3 separate regions of the Homo sapiens genome follow, and all the other regions are linked to region 1. The links are contacts of gene promoters, found by promoter capture Hi-C in blood cells and fetal thymus (Javierre and others, 2016). All regions are on one chromosome and are shown on one strand. The core of a region is centred on a gene start or on the middle of the fragment in contact, and the rest is flanking DNA. Distances in the headings are between cores, read along the strand shown.

Region 1 (3,751 bases), core at 370-2,869:
GATTACCACTACAATCTGAAGATACTTCTGAGACTCTAGAAAAACTAGTTTATTATGGACTATTCCAGACATTAAGAAAAACCTTTGTTTTTCTTTGTTTCCATAGAAATGCCTCTTATTAAAGACCAGCTTGCCTGCATCAGCTGTAGAAGCCCAGCCCCTCTGTAGTGCCACCTCCTAGAATGGACACAGCTGTTTGACCAAATGCTTCTACTCTTAGGACTAAGAGACTGATTCAAGAAGATATGGGACAACATATTTATTTATTTTTCTTTTCTGCTTATCCCAATTTGTTTTTTCCCCTTCTTTGCCTTCTTTTCCTCTAACCCAAATCTCTCCATAATCACTGATTCAGCTGTTGATAATGTGAAATTCTAGGGAAGTTCCAAACAGGAGGATTGAAGGAGCGCAGGGAACTTGGCCCCAAAATATGGCTCCCTGGTATGAGTATTTTCAATTAAAGTCCCTCAAGATCAACAGAAGCTGGAAGAGTCCTCTCCCTTATCTACATGAAGACCCTGCAGACCCACCAAAGAGAACAATTACTTTTCCTTCTCCTCCCTCTTATCTCATTATCTATTGCAGAAAAGAAAACCAACACGTGACCACACCTGAACAGACGCTTTCAAAAAAATAATCCATTTCTCCAGCTTATTAAATTTTCAAAGAGAACCATTTACGAATAACTCTCTGTTTCTTGACCCATTCATTCTCCTTAATAATAATTTATTGCCCCTCAACAGAATCACCTACATTCCGCCTTCCACCCTCCTCTCTGAAAAAACGCTGTATAAGTATCTGGACCTCATGGGATATTGGGTAATCACCTTATTTTTCCCGTGTACACGTTAATAAATTTGTATGCATTTCTCTTATTAATCTGCATTGTACACTTAAAAAGTATTAAAAGAGTGAAATTTATGTTATGAATATTTTATCACAATAAAACAATATTTTAAAAAACTGACAAAAATTCTTTTTAATTTCTTTCAAGTGAGGAATTACCAACTACTTAACAGGGTGCTTAGAATGGGGGATTTTACCAGATAAGTGGCATGCTTTTTACAATTAACAATTGCTGTTATTTACTGAGTATCCACTTTCTCTGCCAGCTCCTGCGTTAAGCACTTTACATATACTAATTCAAATCCTTAAAAAAGAAAATAAAGAAGAGAAAAGGAAAGAAAAATAAGAACATGTAAGGCTATAAGGTGCCTCATCTTTGCCAAATTCTACAGACTGGCCAGGAGACTGCAGGCCACTGCAGCTTCCTAAGGCCACTCAGGACAAGGCCAGTCCGCAATTTGTTTCACTGTGAGACGGCTGCGCGGTCAGAGCCCAGACACGGTCATCAGACTCCCGGACTTGGATTCAGCTCCACATGGTGTCACCCTGGGTAAAGGATGTACATCTCTGCGTGCCTGGGTTTGTATGGATGGCAGCATGGATGCTCAGGCAACTGACCCGTCAGGACTGCAGCAAATGAACAGAAGCTGGGGGAGAGCGCGGGCTGGTGCTGTACGGAGCTCTGGCGCAGAAGGCGCTCACCAGGGGTGCCCAGAGCCGGGGTCTGTGCGCCGCGGGTTGGATCCGGGTCACAGGCTCTGGGTGGACAGAGTGAGAAGACAAAATGAGGATGTACTCCTCAGATGCTCACGAAAGGCCTCCTTCCCCTTCTTTGGGAACGACCCCCCCCCACCCCCTCCCCCCAACAGGCAGTCCCAGGCCGCGCCAGGACTCGGCCGCAGGCAACTCGGAGGAGCGGGAGCCCAGGGGCCTCAGGAGGGCCTCGGGAGTGGGGAGGTGAAGGGGGCGTCGGGAGGGCCGCGGGTGGGAGGCGGGATAGGGAGGCGGGGAGACTCGGAGCGGGGTTGGGGAGGCGAAGAATGGAGGTGGGGAGGTGGGGAGGGGGGCTTCGGGAGGGCCGCGGGTGGGAGGGGGATGGGGAAGCGAGAAGGGGGGGCGGGGAGGGGGGCCTCGGGAGGACCGCGGGTGGGAGGTGGGTGGGGAGGGGGGCCTGGGGAAGGATGGAGCCCGCTGAAGGCAGGCGATGACGCAGGCCCAGTGTACTTCTCCTGGGGGCTCCTTTCTAGGCCCACGGAAGCTCCGTGTTGGTTTCTTTGTACCCATATCACACTCACTGTATTTCTTCTTTCCTTTCCTCTCCCAGCAGCTGTAAGCGCCCTACAGTTTGCATGGGAAGGCAACAGGGACTTCCCTTTTGCACTGTCTGCGGGTACCGCTGTTCCAGCCCTGAGAGGACGAGGGGACGCTGCGCTGTGGGGAAAGTCCGGGTGGCAGGAGGTGGCGGGGCTCCTGGAGGAGGTGCTGGGATGCGCTGCTGTGGCTGCAGAGAAAGGTCCCGAGGACGCAACCCGTCCCTTCCCCCGAACTGCGAAGGAGCCCCGCGGGGAGGACGGGCAGGGTCTCCCGGAGGGAGGAACAGGGGAGCCTGGAGTCTCAGGGTTGCGGGGAGCAGAGGCGTTCTGGGTGGTGAACGTCCCCAGCCTGCCCTCCCTGCTCACTGCGAGGTCGCGCACCGGCTCTGCTCCAGGCCTTCCCTCAGCCCTGGCCTCCAGGCAGTTTCCATTTTTGCCAGGTGGATTCTGTACGGCTTCATTTATTCAGAATCTGGATCAACAAATGAACACTCAGAGAGGAAAAGGGTGTTTGGAGGGGTGGAGAGGTTTCCAAGCAGGTGCCCACCTGAGGGCCCCCTGAAAGGGGACTTAAAGCCGAGTTTCCAGCTGGGCCACCCTTTTTTTTTCTTTCTTTCTTTCAGAAATATAAACAAAGAGCTTGAATTATTTTGAAATAACTGTTGGTAGCTGGACTGTGTTCTCTTGACCGCAACATTGCTCTGGGACTGAATCGCGTGGGTCTCTGCTCTTCCTAAGTGTTACATAAGAATAGCGAACCCATGAGGTCAGCTTCTAAACCAGTTTCTTCCCATAACCTCCTGGACCAAGTCCCAAGCAAGGCCCAGAGGAGCTCAAGGACCCACTCTCCCCGGGACACTCCTCGCTCTCTAGTTGGAAGGAGGAAATGAATGTCCCCCAGTAATTGAAGGCTGCTCATGTTTGTGTAGAAAAGCCAAGCACAGGCCCATATTCTAGAGGGTTGCTTGCGGCAGGCGGAAGGCCATCGAAGGCAAAACGAAACAAATGAAAAGGCATCTTTTGAAGCTAATGGAACAGATCAGGTGGTCAAAAATGGATAAACAATGGCATTTGGAGCAAAACTTTCAGCTTCTTCGTTTTAGTTCGACAGCCCCAGGAGGGCATGGAAGCTTCTCGCCCTCCTCATATGTCTTGCCCCAGGCATCTCTGTGTCTCTCTCCTCTGTAACATCCTTTATAGTAAATGTAAGTAGGCCTTTCCCTGAGCTCTGTGAGCTGCTCTAGCGAATTATTCAAGTGTTAGGAGGCGTCCTGGGAACATTGATTCGTGGGAACGCCAGTGGGTCAGAAGCACAGGTAAGACCACCTTGCCATTGGCATTGGAAGTGGAGGGCAGGCTTGGGACATGAGGCTTGGGCTTGTGGGGTGTGAGGCCACCTCCAGGTAGAAGGTGTCGATGTTGGAATTGTCCGATGTAGAACTGCCTTCTTGCTTGTGGTGGGGAGAAAACCCACACATTTGGTCACAGAAGTCTTCTGTGTTGATTGTTGTTGAGTGAGAGAAAAAAAGTACTTTGGTTTGTTCTGATATTTTCAGAAAGGCTGTAATCAGTTCCTGGGCAATGCGTCATAA
Region 2 (3,751 bases), core at 729-3,228, 560 kb after region 1:
GAATCTAAATGCTACAGCTGAAAGCACAGAACTCTTCCCCAGTCTACCCCTTCCCTCCCTCCAGTGTGGATCCTGCAGGAAAGCCAAGATCTACAGACAGGAATCTCCTGTGGAGGGAGAGAGCAGGTCCCGGTGGCCCCAGGAGTCCACCTGCTTTGGGAAACTTTCCTGTGTCACTCAGGGCATCCACCCAGAAAAGGCGGGAGAGGGAGCTGGAGCCGGGTCACCAGCAGCCACCTGCCCAGAATGAGGAGGGTGACCAGAAACCAGGAGTTCTGGGCCTGAGGGTACAGAAAATAGGAAGGAGCTGCTCAGCTCCCCACCCATGGGGGCCTGCAGGAGGGGAGAAGAGGGAGAGAGGGCCAGAGCCCCCAGCGCTGCAGCTGCCGCCACAATAGAGGCATTGAAGCTGGTGCGGCAGAAGCGTGCAGGGGCTGGAAGAGGAGTGCAGAGGGGAGGGGCTGCCAGGAGAGCCCCAGATGAGAGGGTCTGACGTCCTCCTGACCTTTAAGTCTGGCCTCAGTGCCAAGAAGGAGGGCAGACTGGACCGCAAACAGCCCCCTGGGCTCATGCCTGCATCTCATTATCTGCCCTGCCCCCAGAGGCATCAAATGCCTGGTTGTTCTCAGATTCCCCACCCTGCTGCCTGTCGCATCCTTTGCTGAAAGATGTGCTGTAGGCGCCATGAAAGAAGGGACAGGGCCTGAGCAGAGGCCCCACTCCATGCTTGCTCCTATACTCTTCCTCACTCCCCGGGTCCCCTGGTAAGCAGATGTCTCTGGAGGCTGGAGACCTGGATCCTATCCTTTCCTCTCCCTGATGGGGTAATGGGGCTTGCTCCAGGGAGAGGAAAGGAGAGGACCCAGGTATCCCTAGGGAGAGGCCTAGAGAGGACCTCATCCAGCACTGGGCTTTGTTGTGAGTCCCCAGTGTGGTTCCCATGCGTTTACACCAGTCTCGGCCCTGGCTCTGCATCTCACTTGCTGTGGGCCCCCAGAAGTTCCTTTGCCCTCAGACCTACAAACTATCTCTTGTACAACAAGGAGGTTGAAACACAGGATCCCAGGACCAGTATGTAATCCATTGAGTTGATTTTGCCATTGGTTGAACAGATACTCTGGCGGGAGCAGGTTACACTTTTAGCTTCTTAAACATCTCTCAAATCTGTTCACTCTTTCCATCTCCACCCTCACTGCCTTATTCCTGTGTGCCACCATCCTTGCCTGGACCAATATTCTCCAGGCCTCCAGATCTGGAAGCCTCCATCCAACTCATCTACTTAATAGTGAAATGCAAACCTGATTGTATTACTCGCCTCCTAAAATCCCTTCAAACACTTCACATTGCTTTTGAGCTAAAGATGCAAATCCTTCACATAGCCCAGAAGGCCTTACATGGCCCAGCCTCACCTCTCAGCCTCCTATTCCCTTCTTTGCTTCCCTGCTCTCCATCAGACAACAAAGGGCAAGGTTGGGAGCCATGTCTTGTTCTGTTCATCAAGCTGTCTCCAGCGTGTGGTGTCATTCCAGGTTCAGCCAGCAGAATTAAGTGGACAAATGAATGATGAACACCAAAGATGGCAATTATCTCTCACAGAGATGAAGAGAACAAGCCCCCTTGCCCAAAGTGCCTTGTCACGTTGATGCCCGATGTTCCACCATCAGAAGTCAAAACTAGATCCCTCCCACGTCCCTTCAAACTCTACAGAGCCTTTGTTGCGAGAGATCCAATGTATATTTATAAGACATGCAACCCATGCTGACACCATGAGGCAGCTTCCTTTCACTGATTGCCTGTAATGTGACAAGCACTTTGCATTTGCGGCAGACCTCCTGGATGGGCCTGTGCTCTCATTCAGATGCACAGAATTAGGCAATCCTCCTGTTCAACCTTCCATGCAATGACCAGTATGGAACCAGGAGCTGCCTGAGGAAAACAGGAACCATGTGTTTTTCTGTCTGGAGATAAACCAGATTCCAAGGGGACACAGGTGCCCTGGGAAAGATGTTAATGAATGAAGTTTCTCAGGCCAAGAGCTAGTCAGCAGCATATGTATGTGCAAGGGGTCAGTGGTGCTACAGCATCTATAGGGTTGGTTCTGCAAGAGGCCTCCTTCCCCAAGCCTGCACCAGCCGTGGGCATTATCAGGAGGCCACACGTTCTTTTGTGGCCCCGTGAAAGAACAGTTCTGCGGCCAAACATTTACAGTCATTGTCATATTTTCCAAGGCAAGGCCATGGGGGCTCAAGTCAGCACCAGCTCTGGGGAGGAAGAGATAAGCTGAGGCTGAAGAACCAAAGTCAGAAGGAGAGGAACCAGCACACGAGGAAGGTGAGGAATGGTATCTTCTGAGAGGTGTGGCCGACCTGGGAGGCATTACGGGACCAGGTGCACCCTTGAGCCACCAGAGGCATGACAGTGGGCCTGACTAGAGCCCCCAGCTGCAGGGGTCAGCTGGGATGTCCCCAGGCCTGGGCACTGAAACACACCAGGGTGAACATTTGCAGGAAAAATAAATCCATGAATGAACTGAGCTACTCTCATCTTGAAGCTACTTGTGTTCTCTTGTGCAGCCATTTTTTCCATTTGAAACCCACCTCCCTCACCTACCCCATCCTACGGCTGTTCTAGAAGAGTGAGCAGGTATACCGACACCTCACACAGGGCTTGCACGCTGCAGGTGATCAGGAAATGCTCATTCCCTCCCTGCCTCTTTTGGGTTCTCAGGCACAGTTTACCCCTGTCAAATTCCCATTAGACTAGATGCTCTGCCCAGCCCTTTCAATGCTGACGTTTCACACATCTTGTAAGAAAGCCCTTGGGTCTGGCCAGGCCCGGGTGTGGACAGGGATGCTCACATTGAGCCTGTGGACACAGAAGAGTCTTTATTCGGGCAGACTCTTGAGCCCTTGTTCTGACTGAGCCTATTGGTGCATTTGAGGGGGGTTGGGGGGAGTGAGGATTTAAAAAAAAAAAAAAAGGTCTTGAGGGATGCTGGGGAAGGAAGAGAAGCCAAGTGTCTGGATGGTGTGACCCCAGACTGCAACGCTAGAATGACTCTCAAAACATTCTCCTTTATCAAGGAAACAAGAATGTGAGTCACTCTCTTCCCGCACCCCAGGGGTTTCTTTGCTGAGCAGGGCTGCAAACTGTTCAGCTAATTAGGCTGCATCCTGACCTTAGCCTCCATCCGCAGCAGGCCTCCCTTGAGGGGAGCCGAGGTGCTGCTGCCACCTAGGGTCAGGAGAGTGCACTGCAGGGGGACCGCAGGGCCAGGAAGGAAAAGTCAGGACCCTGAATAAAAGGGCAAGTGGTCCCAGCATGGTTCCGTTTACAAAGAACTTCCCATCTACCACTGCTGGGCTCTTAAAAGAATCCCATGAATTCAGCAGGGCAAGGTTTTACTATCTTCTCTTTACATATAAAGACGCTAGTGATTGCATGGCTGAGGACGGGGGTCTGGGACATTACGAACTCTGCGGCAGAGGTTATGGGTAGACTGTGGGAATTCTTCATGAGGGTTTTTAAAAGCTATTGCTGGTGTAAGTTGGTCTGTAAACATCCTTAGGAAGAATTGGAGAGCAAATGAGTCATGGGGTCCTGATAACTGCACTGAGCTTCACTAAAGGCCACAGGGTCAAGGGCTTAAGAGACAGAGTGAGGGCCACTGGGTCTCTTAGCCCATCATCAGGGCCCCCATTGTCTGCCGGAAGATGCCAGCAAACCCACCATCCTCGAGGTGCTGGCCAGC
Region 3 (3,751 bases), core at 526-3,025, 540 kb after region 1:
AGGTAGAGGCCCTTGATGTATGCTTTTTCCTATGGCTTGAATCCATCACTGTCTCCTGCAAGGCCCCTTAGCTTTCTCCTGAGTGGATGGAGGCCCCATAACTCTCTGATCTGCTTCATTTTCTCTGACACCCCTTAGGATCCTTTTTCAGACAATTTGGCTAGAGAATTATGGCTGACTTTCAGAAGAAAGGGAATGAAGTTTAAACTTGAACTGAGTCTTGCAATATCTTATGTTTTGCTAGCACAACATTCAAATTCTCTCCAATTTCTCTTCTCTGTCCATTATAAGATTTTACAAGGGAAAAGTCAAAGAAAGTAAGGCAGGTTGGGTATGGATACTTGTGGTGTACAATTATGCACCATTTTTAGCCAATTTAGCACAACTGAATACTGGGGGGGAAAAAACTCTCTTGATCAAATCATTAGTTTCTCTGGCATATGAGCTTTCAAGAAGGGTGAAGACCTCTCTTGGGATTTACATCTCCAACTGGTGGGTTTTCTTAACTTTTCAAATCTTGTAGGTAAATTGTAACCTGGTTATCAAATAGATTCCATTTTATTATAAATAAATTAGGCCCTATTTTGTTCCCATTTTCACATTTAAAAGCTAATCTTTGTTGTCATGCCTATCTGTTAAATCACATAATACATGAACTGGAAGGAAAATAAGAGCTCAGAGAATTCAATTTCCTTATTTTATAAATACACTGAAACTAACAAAGAGCGGCAACTGAGATGGAACTAGAACTAAGATTCTTGAATATTGGTTCAGTTTGTAGGGGTTAGAAAATATGACAAAGTCAGGCATAAGATAATTCTGTAATCACTGCTACTGTGTGGCATTGCACAGAGGTTTCATATAATAGAGTAAGTTAAGAAAAATAAAGCAAAGCTATGATTTTGAAAACAAAAGAGAAAATTCTATGTTTTCAACTGAAAGGATTATATACCTAGAATACCAAGACAAATAACTTACTAAATAAAACTGTAATAGAATTCAGGGAGATGGGTGATTAATAAGAATGCCATACAGAAATTAATATTTTGTAGTAAAAAATAAATAGAAAAAAAGTCCTCCTTTACAAATTTCATAAGCCCATAAGACTCCTAAAAACTAATAAGAAATGTTTATGGCATATATAAATAAAACAATCATACATTCTTGAAAAACTATAAAATACCTGAATCAATGAGAAACAAATCGTTTCTGGCTGAGAATCCCCCATACTGTAAAATTATCAGTTCTACCAAATCAGTTAGGAGATTTATTACACTCAAACCAAGATTCTCAAAGGATGATTTATAAAATGTGACAAGGTGATTCTAAAGTTCTTCTAGGAAACACATAAGTATAACCAATAAAATTCTGAGAAAGAATAATTATGAAAACAGGCTTGCTGTTTCAGATATCAGAATATATTTTGAAACAATACTGATGGAGGAATTGTTAAGTAACCGATGAAGCAGAAAAGCAGTAGAAATGAGTCCATATATACTGTGTTTTTAAAATGGTATATCAAAACGGTATATCAAAACTGTGGGGAAAGGGTGAGTTATGATTAATAAATAAATAAACTGCTGTAAGCCAGCAATACAATTACAAGAGAAAATAAAGTCAGTTCCCTCTTTGACCAATATGCAAATATGAATTCTAGCTAGAATAAAAGGATAAATATAAAACTTCCAGTGGAATAAAAGTACATATAGGAATTTTTTAAATACAAACTTATAAAGGTGGAAGAATCCTTGCTGAACAAGGCACGTTGTTGATGAATTATAAATAAAAAGAAGGAAATGGCCGGGTGTGGTGGCTCATGCCTATAGTCCCAGCACTTTGGGAGGCCAAGGCAGGTAGATTACTTGAGGTCAGGAGTTAAAGACCAGCCTGGCCAACATGGCAAAACCCCATTTCTACTAAAAACACAAAAATTAGCCAGGCATGGTGGCGCATGCCTGTAATCCCAGCTACCCGGGAGGCTGAGGCATGAGAATCACTTGAACCCAGATAAAACTTAAGAGTTCTGTATGACAGAAGACACCATGAACAAAGTATAAAGATAAGTGGCAGAGTTACAGGCAGGGAAAATGTTTACAACAAGAATGAACAGTAATAATTCCCAGAATATATATGGAAATCCTACCAAAAAAATAAGACAAACAATATAAACATATAAGCAAAATGTATGAACATTAGATTCATAGTAAAAGGTACTGATGGCTAATAAATATATAAAGATACAGTACTTGAGTAAGTTTTCATATAAATAATGACCTATAAGAAGAAACCAGGAGAAGCAGCACTGGATTAGCACTGAGACAAAATAACATCCACTGATTTGGGAGAACCAATGTCTTCACTATTGAGTCTTCCCATTCAGGAACATGCTTGGTCTATTCATTTATTCAGATCTGTATCCTTCAATTAGTGTAATTGCTTCATTTATAAGGACATAGATTTTTCATTGACTTTGGGAGGTTTTTTTGACATTACCTTTCAAACTTTTCTCATTTCTGTGTCACTCCTTTGTTCCCTAGTCCTTCATTGCCCTCCTATAAGACATTCTGTTAATATATCACATTAAATAAGAAATGAATAAAAACTCTAGCAACATTCAAGCAGCATTCTCTGAAGACACAGAAAATCTTGTAGAAAGAATTGTTTAAAGAACGCATGGCATATAAGAAAATGTGGAGGTGGGAAGCAAAGGAGATGATGGCTGTTCGTGTGCTCCCGGACCAGCTGGGGTCCTAGTGCAGAGACGCTGGGATCTGATTCAGAGCAAGGAGTTATCCTCATGCCAGATAAGGGTACATTCCAGGATGGCCAGGGCTAAGAAGGCTTTCAGCACACACTCCCTCTCCCCTTTTCATTTCCCTCCACCATAAGCTGAGGGCCCTCAAGTTTTTCCCTTGTCTTTTTTTTTTTTTGAGACGGAGTTCCCCTCTTGTTGCCCAGGCTGGAGTCCAGTGGTGCAATCTCGGCTCACTGCAACTACTGCCTCCCAGATTCCAATGATTCTCCTGCCTCAGACTCCCTAGTAGCTGGGATTACAGGCATGCGCCACCATGCCTGGCTAAATTTGTATTATTGGTAGAGACGGGGTTTCACCATGTTGGTCAGGCCGGTTTCGAACTCCTGACCTCAGGTGATCCACCCGCCTCGGCCTCCCAAAGTGCTGGGATTACAGCACTGTGCCCGGCCTTCCCTTGTCTTTTCCACACTTTCCTTCTTTCCCCAGGTTGACACTTCAGACCTCCAGGCTGCTTGACTGGCATAAGTCTTGAACCCAGCTTCCCTGTGCAGGAAAACATGCTGCTGCCTCTTGTTTTTCTATGGATCCCATCAGGTTTACCTGGATGGATGGATGGATGGATGGATGGATGGATGGATGGACGGGCTTCACCTCTGGCATTGGTTCTTCTGGATTTAGACATCTCTTATCCAAGAGATTACACACTAGTAACTAAGTTCTAACCATTTGATGTGGCTTTCAACTCCACTAGCCGATTCTCTAGCCCTCCTGTGGCTTTCCTGGTTATCCTATTGAGTGCTGCTTTAGATATCTCATTCATGTCTTCCCGGGTGTGAGGACAGATCATGCCTCTAAAGACGCATGTTAATTTTCCAGAAACAGAGAAAATTCGACTTTCAGATCCATGTGCATCAGTTCCATTTAAATCTGTCATTAGCACCATGAAGTCAAACTGCGTCAGAACTTTTCAGCATTAAATATGACCTGATGGATGTT

Evidence for each region. The method cuts DNA at HindIII sites, captures the fragments that hold promoters and counts their contacts. A CHiCAGO score of 5 or more calls a contact.
Region 2: a fragment that was not itself captured here is called in contact with the fragment with the promoter of LINC02881 in region 1 in 3 of 17 cell types (M0 macrophages, M2 macrophages and M1 macrophages); the score reaches 8.6 in M0 macrophages.
Region 3: a fragment that was not itself captured here is called in contact with the fragment with the promoter of LINC02881 in region 1 in 3 of 17 cell types (M2 macrophages, M1 macrophages and M0 macrophages); the score reaches 6.9 in M2 macrophages.

Annotation. Positions count from the first base shown.
Region 1 is chr10:44,291,131-44,294,881 of GRCh38, forward strand. LINC02881 (long intergenic non-protein coding RNA 2881) reads left to right here and starts at 1,620. Exons shown (of 3, transcript NR_164139.1): 1 at 1,620-1,803; 2 at 2,171-2,359; 3 at 2,783-3,519. It overlaps LOC124902544 (a long non-coding RNA gene), which reads right to left. Exons shown (of 3, transcript XR_007062369.1): 3 at 2,784-3,751. The HindIII fragment of the contact is 4,267 bases long and covers 1-3,287 here.
Region 2 is chr10:44,854,705-44,858,455 of GRCh38, forward strand. The region is part of intron 2 of TMEM72-AS1 (TMEM72 antisense RNA 1); the gene reads right to left. Among named protein-coding and RNA genes, the nearest start is that of TMEM72, 55 kb to the right of the region's middle. The HindIII fragment of the contact is 4,983 bases long and covers 1-3,751 here.
Region 3 is chr10:44,835,623-44,839,373 of GRCh38, forward strand. The region is part of intron 2 of TMEM72-AS1 (TMEM72 antisense RNA 1); the gene reads right to left. Among named protein-coding and RNA genes, the nearest start is that of TMEM72, 74 kb to the right of the region's middle. The HindIII fragment of the contact is 8,905 bases long and covers 1-3,751 here.